Regions from separate parts of the Homo sapiens genome. Here all the other regions are linked to region 5. Evidence: promoter capture Hi-C in 16 types of primary human blood cells and fetal thymus (Javierre and others, 2016). All regions are on one chromosome and are shown on one strand. The core of a region is centred on a gene start or on the middle of the fragment in contact, and the rest is flanking DNA. Distances in the headings are between cores, read along the strand shown.

What was found. Contacts are between HindIII fragments. The CHiCAGO score rates a contact against its expected background, and 5 or more counts as called.
Region 1: a fragment that was not itself captured here is called in contact with the fragment with the promoter of AIPL1 in region 5 in 2 of 17 cell types (M0 macrophages and M1 macrophages); the score reaches 5.9 in M0 macrophages.
Region 2: a fragment that was not itself captured here is called in contact with the fragment with the promoter of AIPL1 in region 5 in 1 of 17 cell types (total CD8 T cells); the score reaches 6.3 in total CD8 T cells.
Region 3: a contact is called between a fragment that was not itself captured here and the fragment with the promoter of AIPL1 in region 5, in 1 of 17 cell types (total CD8 T cells). The highest score is 5.0, in total CD8 T cells.
Region 4: a contact is called between a fragment that was not itself captured here and the fragment with the promoter of AIPL1 in region 5, in 1 of 17 cell types (M1 macrophages). The highest score is 6.8, in M1 macrophages.

Annotation. Positions count from the first base shown.
Region 1 is chr17:5,731,679-5,734,378 of GRCh38, reverse strand. It overlaps the pseudogene LOC100128284. Among named protein-coding and RNA genes, the nearest start is that of NLRP1, 150 kb to the right of the region's middle. RefSeq lists an enhancer at 670-1,869. The HindIII fragment of the contact is 1,125 bases long and covers 847-1,971 here.
Region 2 is chr17:5,632,704-5,635,403 of GRCh38, reverse strand. No RefSeq gene overlaps it. Among named protein-coding and RNA genes, the nearest start is that of NLRP1, 50 kb to the right of the region's middle. The HindIII fragment of the contact is 2,999 bases long and covers 1-2,700 here.
Region 3 is chr17:5,649,229-5,651,928 of GRCh38, reverse strand. No RefSeq gene overlaps it. Among named protein-coding and RNA genes, the nearest start is that of NLRP1, 66 kb to the right of the region's middle. The HindIII fragment of the contact is 8,928 bases long and covers 1-2,700 here.
Region 4 is chr17:5,672,567-5,675,266 of GRCh38, reverse strand. No RefSeq gene overlaps it. Among named protein-coding and RNA genes, the nearest start is that of NLRP1, 89 kb to the right of the region's middle. The HindIII fragment of the contact is 2,500 bases long and covers 3-2,502 here.
Region 5 is chr17:6,433,871-6,436,570 of GRCh38, reverse strand. AIPL1 (AIP like 1 HSP90 co-chaperone) reads left to right here and starts at 1,450. Exons shown (of 6, transcript NM_014336.5): 1 at 1,450-1,562; 2 at 2,473-2,652. The coding sequence starts at 1,467. The HindIII fragment of the contact is 8,305 bases long and covers 1-2,700 here.

The DNA.
Region 1 (2,700 bases), core at 160-2,659, 700 kb after region 5:
TTTTTTTTTTTTTTTTTTTTTTTTTTGAGACAGAGCCTTGCTCTGTCACCCAGGCTGGAGTGCAGTGGTGCGATCTTGGCTCACTGCAACCTCCACCTCCCAGGTTCAAGTGATTCACCTGCCTCAGCCTCCTGAGTAGCTGGGACTGCAGGCACCTGCCACCATGCCTGGCTAACTTTTTTGGATTTCTACTAAAGACAGGGTTTCGCCGTGTTAGCCAGGATGGTCTCGATCTCCTGACCTCGTGATCTGCCCACCTCGGCCTCCCAAAGTGCTAGGATTACAGGCGTGAGCCACCGTGCCCGAACTTGCTACTTCTTAAAACAAGACATTTCGTTGTTTGCTACCTGATAAAGGGGCGGCATCTCCCATCTGTGGCTCGATCAGGAGCATCAGGGTCCCATCTCATCCTGGCATCACAATCTCCAGGCCTGCCATGCCCTTGCCCCCTTGCCCATCTTTTGCATCCTTCCTCTCCTACAGATGATTTTTGACTGCAGTTTCCTTGCTTCATCTAAGGAGCTTCTTATAATTACTGTCCATCAACTGCCTCTCTCCTTCCTTCCCAGCATGGTAATGAGAACTTGTTACAATAATTATTTCTGTCACTCTCAGAAGTTAGGGCAGGAGGGGGAGGCTGCTGAATATACATTATCTGCTCTCTTGAACTGGTTGTCTAGTTGTTTTTAAAGTTTCTTATTCTCAAATCACCAGCGCAAATCCAACAGAGACTGTTATTTTGGGGAGGATCATAAAACACAGAACAGATAGTGCTGTGGCATTCACGCATCTGTCTCTGTGAAGCAAGCAGGAATTTTTTGGTGGCCAAATATTTTGACAAAAGCTTTGCAATTTCCTTCTTGTGCTCTCCCTAAGGAATAGTTAAGCCCAGAGATTCTGTGGATAGTGGTTGGCCTAAAAATGCAAATATTTCTTTGAGTAATGTGGGTTTATCCTGACCCCATCCATGTAATACCTGTGCAGCTAGAAGGAAAATTTTTCTTCTCTCATAATTACCGGTAGGCTTAGGAAACACGCCTTTCTGGGGACGATTCCTAGATAATCTTACCTGGGTTAGAAGCTGAGACTTTAGAGGAGGAGGCAGAAGATAAATAATATAGGAGAGGTAAACTTTTTCTCTATCTTTTTAGGTTTGGTGATTGGAGCTCTGTAAATTAAACTGACAAAAGACACATTCGCAAGAGAAGAGAAGAGTTTACTTACGCAAGCCTGAGTGTTCAGTGATGAGTAACTCAAAGTCGTGATTAGAATTTGGGGCTTAAATACCTAACCTAGTAGGGGAAAGGGAGGAGGGAGAAAAGGCTCCTATGGGAAATACAGATGGGCTTCTTTAGGAAATACATTTTTTTCAGGATAACAGGACATTTTTTGAAGAGTGTGGTGATGTCTTTCCATACAAATAAAGGTGGTCTTTCCATCTTCCTCAGGGCCATGAAACTCCCCCGGAGAAGGGATCTATGGTAGCTTCATTTACCAGAAGTTGCTGCTTTTAGTCAGATAAGGGAAGCTCTGAGGAGGCTTTTCTCTGCGTCTGTTGAACCTCAAATGTCTTCAGTTTAAAATAATCTTTATTCCAACTCTGGGCTTCTGAGTGGGTCCACACAGTAAGCTCATATGAGCTTTAGATGGTGGGAAGAGGGCTGGTGACCCTGAAAAAGAGAGGAAAAGAGAGAGGAAGGGGAAGAGGAACAGTGAAATGGATGAAGATTCTGGGGAGCCTGGCGAGACCCCTCAAATCTTGAGCAAGTCCCCCACACCCATGAATCATCTGTTGGGAGCACCCTTAGTGAAACCACTGCAGACTGGGTTTTTTATCCAAGATGGCAGGAGGCTGCACCCTCTAATGCCGAAAAGAACAGACTGAAGAATTAGGCCATCAGGAATTGTCCAGGATCATGAGGAAGACCCTCAGCTTTCGCAGGCTGTAACTTGGGAGGGTTGAACCAAGCTTACCTAAATTTCCAGGAGGCACAGAAGCCCCGTTTGAGAAGGGTAACATGTAAACGTCAAGCAGAGTCCGTCAGGGGTGTGAGCTTTGAGCTGAGTGCCCAGCAGACGGGACTCCAAGTCCCTTCTTTTCTGTGTCCCAGTCTCCCTGGGAACCTACTCCACCGGGAGCAACAGCCCTGATTCCAAATACCTTTAAAATGTCCTGGAAATGTTGTTTTTTTTTTTTTTTTAGCATCTAAATGATATGCCCCAGACTTCTTCTATTCCAACTGTTTCTTTTTTTTTTTTTTTTTTTTTTTTTGAGACCAAGTCTCGCTCTGTCACCCAAGCTGGAGTCCAGTGCCATGATCTCGGCTCACTGCAAGATCTCGGCTCACCACAGCCTCCGCCTCCCGGGTTCAAGCAATTCTCCTGGCTCAGCCTCCTGAGTAGCTGGGATTACAGGCACATGCCACCATGCCAGGCTAATTTTTGTATTTTTAGTAAAGCCAGTGTTTCACTATGTTGGCCAGGCTTGTCTTGAACTTCTGACCTCATGATCTGCCCACCTCAGCCTCCCAAAGTGCTGAGATTACAGGCATGAGCCACCGCGCCCAGCCTGTCACCTCTGTTCTATCTTCCAATTCTGTATTCCAAATTCCAAATTCTGCAGTTCAAACTCAAGTTCTGAATTCTAAGTTGTACCTTCTGGATTCTGTTACATGTCTGTCTCCTGCCCCTAAATCCTTC
Region 2 (2,700 bases), core at 37-2,536, 800 kb after region 5:
CCATTGCACTCAAGCCTGGGCAACAAGAGCAAACTCCATCTCAAAAAAAAAAAAAAAGAAAAGAAAAAAGAAAAAATAAAGAAACAAAGACTTGGGTCCCCAGTTCTGAACTTGTCAGAGCAAGAAGATGAAGTTCCAAAGCCTCTTCTTTGGGTCTTATAAATACAAAGAGATACCTGGTTAGGCAGAATTTAAACCTTTATAGGGAATTTATAAGCTGCCATTTAAATGTTGCAGCTAGTTTATTCCATAGATGAATTGTTCTAGAAAACCTCATCTGGTCCTTACGTAAAATGACAAATAGCCCCCTAGTGCCTCGCAAGGGAGGGCTGCAACTGGACATTTTCCTAGCCAACCTATTGGCTGCTCCTGCTGATACTCCTTGGAACGCAGAAGTGGTACCAGAAGGAGGAGATTGAGTCCTCTGGCAGCTTCTCAGCAAATATGCCAATGTTGCCCTCTGCCATTGTTAAGTTCAAACCTATTGGAATTGCTGGGGCACTGTGAGGATCCCGATTGAGAACTATCAGCAGGAAAAGATCCCTCTGGGAGGCTGAGACTCACCCTAAAGGGAGGGGAAATCTGGAGAAGGGACCCAAGCTAATCTCAAAGAGAGTTGGTCTTGAGGCCATGCATGCTGAGGCCGGCAGAACCCCCGTGGCTGCTCCATCACATGACAGGGCGTGGCTGGGAATATACTCATGAACAAGGAAGCTATTGGTTTAGGAATCCCAGTGTGCAGCACCCTGTGCCAAGTGTAACACTGAGGAAATAGAATCCCTGTCCTCCAGTGGCAGCTTGGGTCTGGAGCAGTGGCTCATGCTTGTAATCCCAGCACTTTGGGAGGCCGAGGCAGGTGGATCACCTGAGGTCAGGAGTTCAAGACCAGCCTGGCCAACACGGTGAAACCCCGTCTCTACTAAAAATACAAAAATTAGCCAGGCATGGTCGTGGGCGCCTGTGATCCCAGCTATTCAGGAGTCTGAGGCAGGAGAATCACTTGAATCTGGGAGGAAGAGGTTGCAGTGAGCCAAGATCGCACCACTGCACTCCAGCCTGGACAACAGAGCGAGACTCCATCTCAAAAAATAAATAAATAATAAATTTTAAAAAATAGCAACATGGTCAGTGCAAGGATGTGAGCCAGCAAGCACATCCTCACAGCCAGGGATAAGAGGGGACCACGTTGTGCTGGATCAGTTTTCAACAACCATCCCATGTGGCGGCAGCAGCATTGATGGCAGCTGAAGCCAGCCTGCCTACTGGTGGACTAGACATATTTCCCAGTTTTACCAGCATGAGCATATGGAAACCGGACTGACCACTTAGGACTGAGTGCACACTAAGGGGTTTTTTAAAATAATCTAAAAGCCCCAAGAAATTTCCTGAGATTTTTTAAAATATGGCAAGTGAGGGGCTTAGCCTATTTTTATTCAAAAATACAAAAGGTGACCAAATTCACTCTTAATGAAGCTGGAGAGTCTAGTTGTAGAAACTCGGTTCACTTCAGAATTGTTCCCTGATTAGTCTCTCTTAAATCCAACTTATTTATGCCTCCCAGAAGGGCTGTGCTTAGAGTTCTGAACCCAGGATTTTAAAAGCAAATTTCGTTTCGTCAAAACAGAAACAAGGGCCATCAATTGATGAACGTGGCTTGGAGCTAAAAGTTGAGGCTGCAGATACAAGAAGGCAGAGAGAGAGAGCTCCAACTATTTGTAAAATCCTCAGGCTGGGCTCTTGTTGCCAATGAGATGGGCCTCTTGGACCCTGAGAAGCCCAGTTCTGCTCTCACTGGATGAATAAAGCAGCAGACACTTGGTCTCCTGAACCTCTGCTGCCCAAAAGTCACAGATTCTGGAGGTCATTAATCTTAAAGAGCAGAAAGCAGAAAGTCCCTTCTCTAAGATAAAAATCTCAAAAATATCCTGTTTCCCCAAGTGTCTGCAGGTGTGTTCAAGGTGAGCCTCTTGGACAACTCAGGATGTGTCTGACAACTCGAGCCCTGCCATCTGCCTGTGTCTCCGTCAGTCCGTCAGGACCAATCTGCCTGTGTCTCCATCAGTCCGTCAGGACCACTGGGCTGCAGGGACATCAGCCACAGCTTGTCCTGCAAGACAGAGATGGGGGTGGAGCACAAAGGAAGAGAGAAGAACTTCGGAGTCAAAGAGACCAGAGTTAATTTCCAAGCACTCTCTCTCTCTCTCTCTCTCTCTCTCTCACACACACACACACACACACACACGCACACACACATGCACACACACAGAGTAGATAAAGACACATCACTCCTCTGAGGCCTAAATTTTCCTGTCCCTTAAGTGAGACAATAATAGTGTTATCTACCTTATGAGGATTAAGGATTCCATGAGATGATGCACACAGAATACCTCGCACAGAGCCTGGCCTTAAAAAGCACTCAAAAAACATGAGCTGTTGGAATGTGCACTACACCTAGTTTCCAGATTCTGTCATCCCATTTGCTGTTTGATCCTCAGAACAACTCTATGAGGAAGCTGGAGCAGATATGTTTGCCCCCGGCTTTGGGTGAGGAAACTGATCAATCCTTTGCCCAAGATGACACAGAGTTAGTGATGGGGTCAGGTCTGAAACGTGTGCCTGGCTGCTTTAAGTTCTGTGACATTTCACCTCCTCAGAGCACCTTCCCCATTTCCCCAAGCCCTGAGCCCTCCCTGCTGCCGT
Region 3 (2,700 bases), core at 37-2,536, 780 kb after region 5:
AAAACCATCACCACCTCCGTTTGGCTGATGGAGAAAATGGGGCTGAGAGCTTAGAGATTTTCCCAAGGTCCTGCAGCTAACAGCATGGGTGGGGCTTAAATCAATAGCTTAGGTCTTTTTGTTAAGTGGTCTTTCCAGACTATCATTTAGAAGTTGGGGGGTTGGAATCATTCTGAAGAAGCAAACATGGAAATGCATGTTAAGAAGAAAAGACAGAGAGTGAAACCAGTGTGTTTGACGGAGGAGGAGGCATATGCCCAAAGACAGAGGCAGCCCAGTTGAAATTTCCACATTATGGTTCTGCTGGGCTGAACCCAGAGAAAGCAGAAGTGTTACAGCTTTTGGTTGTGCAGGAACAGACCAATATGCTGAGACAGCACGGTTTGCAGCAGAGAAAGAGTTTAATGATCACAGGGCAGCCAAGCAAGGAGATGGGAAGAGACCCTCAATCCATCTCCCCAAAGAGTTCTGGGCTGGGGCTTTTAAGGGGATCATGGAGGGCAAGGGGCTGGGAATTGGGGTCATTGATTGGTTAGGGTAAGGGCGATGAAATCTTCAGGATGTGGAAACTGCATTCTCTGGGGAGTCAGCTCCTCGTGGGGTCCTTCAGGCCAGCTGACATTGATAGTTTCACTGGTATGCAGGGTCTGAAAGACTGTCTCAATGGGAAAACTTAATATTCTGTAATGTTCAAGTTGTTACCTATGGAGCAGTTAAGGGAAACTGTAATCTAGGGTCAGTGTGATTCTAAGACAATAGGCACCAAACAACTATGAGGAAATGGGTCAGAGAGCAGCTGATCTCATGTTAATGCCAAATGTGCTGCAAGCTGTGTTTATTTTCATTTCTTTCTCTCTCTTCTTCCCTGATGAACTTTACAAAGTTTATAGGGACAGTTTCAGAAACACATGTGGAAACAGTAGACAACAAAAGCAATTAAAGTAATAGCTGCCTTTTATTGAGCCTTTCTCAATGTCAGACACCATTCAGAGTGTTCACATTGGAAAATCCCACTTTGTCCTCAGAACAATCTTATGAGATAAGTACTTCTGTCAGTTATGATGTTTTAGGTTGTAAGTAACAATTTTTTTTTTTTGAGACAGAGTCTCGTTCTGTCACCCAGGCTGGGGTGCAGTGGTGCAATCTCAGCTCGCTGCAACCTCCGCCTCCCAGGTTCAAGCGATTCTCCTGCCTCAGCCTCCCAAGTAGCTGGGACAACAAGCACGTGCGACCAGTCCCAGCTAATTTTTGTATTTTTAGTAGAGACGAGGTTTTGCCATGTTAGCCAGGCTGGTCTCAAACTCCTGACCTCAGGTGATCCACCTGCCTCGGCCACCCAAAGTGCTGGGATTACAGATGTAAGCCACCACACCTGGCCACAACAATATTATTTTTAACTACAAATGGTTTGAACACTAATGGAGCCTCCCAGCCAAGATGATACTGTAAGTTCATACTTCAAGCTCTCCCTCTGATCCCAACACGTAGCACTCATAGATAAAATATTAACAACAAAAGCTAAGAAGACATAGCCACCTTCAAAAGTAAGATAAGTATTTTTCTGGACTAGAAATGGTAGAAAAGAACAAAGAAAAAAGCTGACTGAATTGCAGGTCTGCTGGACTGGGGCCAAGATGCAGGAAGAGGTGGCTGGAGCTCTATCTTGTGGGGTGGCTGGAGCTCTATCCTGTGGGGTACAAGGAACTAAAAATGTAGGGATATTGATCCAGACTTACTGGGCCTGGGATAGGATTTCCCTGGTCAGGGAAGGAGTTTGAAACCAACTGCAATGTATCTGGCCCAGGGTTGTGGTTTATATGTAGCTCAGTGATGACGAAGGTAGGAGTGGGGATGTGCAGCCTTCCAGCCAGGACCTATAGGCAAACCAGCCAAGTTCTTGGATCTGCATCTTCCTCTGTCTCCTTAAAGAACCAGAGCCCCAACCACCAACATGAGACCAGTCCTTGGACAGAAGCCTCATGACTGGGTTGGAGATGACCACAAAAGTTGAATTGGGGGTTGAGGGAGTTGAGTGGATTCCCATAGTAATCATACATAATTATCCTACAAAGCTAAGTTCTGAAGCATATGAGGAAATCTAATGCTAAGAAAAACAGCTGACAAAACCATACTCAGAAGGTTGATGCAGCCCGGGAAAGTAAAATAATAAAGCAATCAGAAAATATTTTTTATTATTTAAGATCCACAATGGATAAAGGAAGAAATAGCATGACTAATAACAATGAGAAATTGTGAAACAAAAGCAAGCAAAAATATAACAAGGTAGGGTGGACATTTAAAAAAAGAAACAGATGTAAAATGCTGAACACAAAATAGGCATTTCATTTACAATACTTTTCAATAGAAGGAATCAATGCTAGAGAATAAAAGAAGGAATCAATGCTAGAGAATAAAGTCAAAGAGAGAATAAGTACATTGGATGATGGTGCTAATTTAATCACTAAGAACACAGCCTAAAGAAATAAAGAAAAATAGGAAAGAGCTATTAAACAAAAAAAAAAAAAACTCTGGCTCAAATATGTGTTGAAATAATAGCTCCAGAAGATAATAGAGGGGGGCTATGAGGAAGGAATTTCCAAAGAGGTAAGGGCTGAGGATTTTCCAGAATTGAAGAAAAATGTGCATCCTCAAAGACGTATACTAAATAGAATAAATGTCTTAAAACTACACCTATTTATA
Region 4 (2,700 bases), core at 3-2,502, 760 kb after region 5:
CTTGCATTCTACAGCATGTGTGCAATAAGACATAGTTGGATTATGCTTATTAATTGTCTTTATATTGGGGCGATACTGACAAGGACCAACTCTGTGGGACATCAACATTCACTAGATCCTCCTGATTAACTTTCGGCCTCAGAAGAAGGAACGTGGGCAACATTGTGATGGTCCCAAGCCAGCAAATGTCAACATTTCCAAAATACGATTGACCATTTCCCAAACCCAAATAATCAACTAACCCCCATCTTTCATGTTAGTGGGTGTCCTGGCTAAAGTTGATATGACAGCTGAAGTGTGGACTTTTGTCTCATGTAATTTTTTTTTAATTTTATTATTATTATACTTTAAGTTTTAGGGTACACGTGCACAACATGCAGGTTTGTTACATGTGTATACATGTGCCATGTTGGTGTGCTGCACCCATTAACTCGTCATTTAGCATTAGGTATATCTCCTAATGCTATCCCTCCCCCCTTCCCCCACCCCACAACAGGCCCCGGTGTGTGATGTTCCCCTTCCTGTGTCCATGTGTTCTCATTGTTCAATTCCCACCTATGAGTGAGAACATGCGGTGTTTGGTTTTTTGTCCTTGCGACAGTTTGCTGAGAATGATGGTTTCCAGTTTCATCCATGTCCCTACAAAGGACATGAACTCATCATTTTTTATGGCTGCATAGTATTCCATGGTGTATATGTGCCATATTTGCTTAATCCAGTCTATCGTTGTTGGACATTTAGGTTGGTTCCAAGTCTTTGCTATTGTGAATAGTGCCGCTATAAACATACGTGTGCATGTCTCATGTTATTTTTAATCTGAGTTTTCTGAACATAAGGAGAAAAAAAGAGGAAATGAATGCCTGGGTCCCAATGGAAAGTAGTTGCTCTCTTCATGACTGTTCCATTTCTCCTTTCTCCTTTGATTCCCTTGCAAACTTAAAACAGTGTTAGAATTCACACAGGTACACAATTTATAGCTCACATATCAATTTCACATCCACTGCCTCATCCTCCCAAAACAATCCCAGTGAGCAGTAGGACAGACATTTTCATTGTTCCCATTTTACAGATGAGAAAATCAGGGCTCACTAAGTTAAGTTCCCCCAGGATCACACAGCAGAGGAAGGTGAGGTGGGACGTGAGCTTGAGCTTTGATGTCAATGCAAGGAACAAGAAGGTTCTGTCATGGGGCTGCTCTCCTTTCCAATCCACTTCCACTTCTGCAAACCTCAACGCCCCAACACAAGGCACTCTTGAGTAACTATCATAGCAGGGGCCCTTCTTTCCATCCTAGAAAGGGGTGTCCTTTGTCACTTGGGGGAGTGGGTAAATCAGAGGAATTGGCCGGATGGCCTCAGGCTGGAGAGTGGCCTCTAGTCTCTTATCCCCGGGGAAGGAAAAATCAGTGCCCAGCCCCATTATCTGGGGGAGTCCGCTCCACCCCGTCCCCCGCCAGCACTCTTCATCTTCTCAGACCAAACACACACTGAACCTGAGGGAGGTGTAGGCAGCTCCCTGGTGAGGAATTCGAGTAAGCACCAAAAAATTGTACAATAGAAGCCGGCCACATCTAGACCAGTGGCTCTCAAAGTGTGGTCCTCTAACTGGCAGGATCAGTGATACCAGGAGCCTCTTAGAAATGCCAGTTATCAGTTCCAATCCCGGACCTACGGAATTAGAAGCTCTGGGGTGGGGCCCAGCGGTCCATGTTTTTGCAAACCCTCCCAGTGATTCTGATGTGTGCTGATGTGTGAGGACCACTGCTCTGGCATCTCATCCTCACGTCACAGGGTGGAGAAACAGGAACTAGGTCTCACTAGGGACCCCTCTTCCTTCCCACTCTCCAGCTCACAGCCCCACTGCCTCTTCCACCTGCAGCCCCCTGGCCCCCACCTGGGTACCCCCACCCTTCCCTGGAGACTTTTCACCTTTCTAAACAGTACTGGAATCTCGCCTCTTGCCCTGCACTCTGCCCGCTCCATCTTCAGCCTGATATCATGGGACTTCCCCTGCTCTGTCCCAGAATGACTGGGACCTGTGGGCCGGGGTGGACCAGGCTTCAATTCCACGTCAGGCTCTCCCCACCAACCACAGCCATAACCAGTGTTTTCTCCTGATGACTTAAGGACAAACTCACCTTTCAACCAAAGAATCGAGTTTCCCTGGAGACATCATATTTTAGTTTACAAGAGAAGTGTGACTTCTTCCTGGTCATGTGACTGATCCTACACTTTGTGAAATAATGGCCTGCTCTTATCACATCAGAGCAGCATCTGCTGACTCCCTGTTCCTATTTTCACATCAAGGGGCCAGTACTTAACTGAAAGTGTCTCTGAGTCACCCAGGATGACCCTGACTCCCCATTTCTCCCCTGGTAGAGGAGGGGCACAATGCATCCCATCAATGGGTCACTCTCAGGATAAGGAGCAGGCCTGGGAAGAGCCAGCAACAGGGATGCTAGCACCACTCGACCTCACTGCCTCAGGGGGTGGAGGCCAAGCTTCATTCCTGCCCCCATCAGCACCCACTGGGGCTGGACCTTGTTGGACTGCCCCTGTCACCAGGAAGAGCTTGGTAAGCAGAAACAAGGACCCTAGGAGGGTGCTGGGTTCTACTTCCCTGAGTTTTCCTTAGGTAATCCACAGCACAAGGAATGCCTAGATTCATGGCCCCTAATTTCTGCTCCTCGTTGCCACACCA
Region 5 (2,700 bases), core at 201-2,700:
CATTTTTTGTTTTGTTTTGTTTTTTTGAGACAGAGTCTCGCTGTGTTGCTCAGGCTGGAGTGCAGTGGCACGATCTCAGCTCACTGCAACCTCCGCCTCCCGGGTTCAAGCGAGGCTCCTGCCTCAGCCTCCTGAGTAGCTGGGATTACAGGTGCGCACCACCATGCCTGGGTAATTTTTGTATTTTTAGTACAGACTACTAAAAATACAAAACTCCTGACCTCAGGTGATCCACCTACTTCAGCCTCCTTAGTCCCGTGTTTTTATCTCTCCCTGTAGCAGAGTCCTGCACCCCTTCCCTCTGCAACCGGTGAGCCTGGTGTCAGGAAGAGAATGGTTTCGTGGAGCTGAGTCCAGTGCCCTCAGGGTGCGGAGGTGTAGGAGCTTGAACTGGCCACACGGTGGTGCCAAACACCAGGTCTTCGCATTTATGTTTCCCAGCCCTTCTGGGCGTCCCTGATGCCCTCAATAAACTCTGCCTGGTTCCCAGGGCACAGGGCTAAGGGCCTCCAAAGGGGAGGGGAGGGGAGGGGAGGGGAGGGGATACCCACCCTTCCCCCAGCCAGACCTTGCAGGGGAGGCAGGAGCGGGGCTGCGGAGGGCGCCTCAACTTTACCCAAACCCACCCCGCCTTTCGTTCTCCGTCTTCCTTCTCTCCCAAGCCAGAAACCTGTCCCCTCTTGCCTTGGGCCACCATCGCAGGGCCTCCTGAAGGCAGATTCTGGGGAGGGGAGGGGGAACAGGGAAAGCAGAAAGGTGGCTGGATGGCAAAGGGCAGCTGTCACCCCGGCTGGCCTGGGGTCCTCGGGGACTTAGAGTCTGGGCCCAGCCCATGCCTCCCCTCCTTTTCCCCTTCAGTGGCCTCCAGGCCTCTCTCCACATCGCCAGGCTGGAGTGCAGTGGCGCTATCTTGGCTCACTGCAACCTCCGCCTCCCGGGTTCAAGCGATTCTCCTGCTTCAGCCTCCCGAGTAGCTGGAACTACAGGCGCCCGCCACCACCCCCGGCTAATTTTTGTATTTTTAGTAGAGATGGGGTTTCACCATATTAGCCAGGATGGTCTCGATCTCTTGACCTTGTGATCTGCCCGCCTCGGCCTCCCAAAGTGCTGGGATTACAGGCGTGAGTCACCGCGCCTGGTCCCCTGTCTTCTTTAAGAAAGCTCAGCGGACCTTTTTCCTTCTTGGGGTGGAACAAAAAGCCAAATCTAGCACAACCCTGGGCAGGGGCCCAGAATCACTGGAAGCAAAGGTGGATGGGATAGGAGGCGAGGCTGCCTGTGGACCACAGGCCCGGCCCGAGTGGCTCTGATGAGAAGCCGGGGCGCCTAGGTCACCGCCCCCACCGTCTGCCCTTCCCCCCACTCCTCCTGGCTGGGTAAATCCCAGAGTCTCAGCCGCCTAAGTGTCTTCCCCGGAGGTGAGATTATCTCCGCCTGTGCTGGACACCTCCCTTTCTCCTGCAGCCATGGATGCCGCTCTGCTCCTGAACGTGGAAGGGGTCAAGAAAACCATTCTGCACGGGGGCACGGGCGAGCTCCCAAACTTCATCACCGGATCCCGAGTGAGTGGGGCCCCTCCGGAGCAGACAGGGTCCCCCACAGCAGCTTTCAACATTCCAGGTGTGCCCCAAGGCACTGTAAACAGCTTTCAGCTGTGCCAAAAAAACAGCCAGGCAGCCCCAGCGCTGGGCCTCCGGGGAGCTCCCAGCGTTTACCCATTCAGGGGGCATTTTTGGTACTTTGCAGATTCAACTTTAGCATGGGCTGAGGGGAAGGGCTTTTGGGAATTTTCTGGGGCCCTAAATGTTGAGTGAGAAGAAAGGGAGTCCGAGGAGTCTTGGTATTTGTCCCCAAATGTCTGTTAGGCTTCCCTGGACTGAAGGGTGCGTCTGTGGCTACAGAATTCGGGCTTTGGCCAGGCGAGGCGGCTCCCGCCTGTAATCCCAGCACTTTGGGAGGCCAAGATGGGCAGATCATGAGGTCAAGAGTTCGAGACCAGCCTGACCAACATGTGAAACCCCATCTCTACTGAAAATACAAAAATTAGCCAGATGTGCTGGGCGCCTGTAATCCCAGTTCAGATACTCAGGAGACTGAGGCAGGAGAATCACTTGAGCCCAGGAGGTGGAGGTTGCAGTGAGCCGAGATCATACCACTGCACTCCAACCTGGGCAACAGAGTGAGACTCTGTCTCAGAAAAAAAAAAAAAAAAAAGAACTCGGGCTTACTTGAGGAAGGATTTCTGGACGCACAGGGCTGTGGGGAGTGGAATGGGGTCTGTAGGGAGGGGTGGGTCCCTCCTCCCTGGGGGGTGCAGGCAGGGTGGAGGTGCTCCAGGGGTCTGAGGCATCTGATGGGGTGAACTGAGTGAGCTGACCCTGGGGACAGCCCTGGGTGTCGGTGGCAAGGGGGTGGCTTCTGCCGGGCCTTGAACAGTGTGTCTAGAGCAGAGTGCACCGTCTCGGTGACTAGGTGATCTTTCATTTCCGCACCATGAAATGTGATGAGGAGCGGACAGTCATTGACGACAGTCGGCAGGTGGGCCAGCCCATGCACATCATCATCGGAAACATGTTCAAGCTCGAGGTCTGGGAGATCCTGCTTACCTCCATGCGGGTGCACGAGGTGGCCGAGTTCTGGTGCGACACCATCGTAAGTAGGCCCTGCGCGCCTGTCTCCTGGGACTAGTCTTTTCTGGGC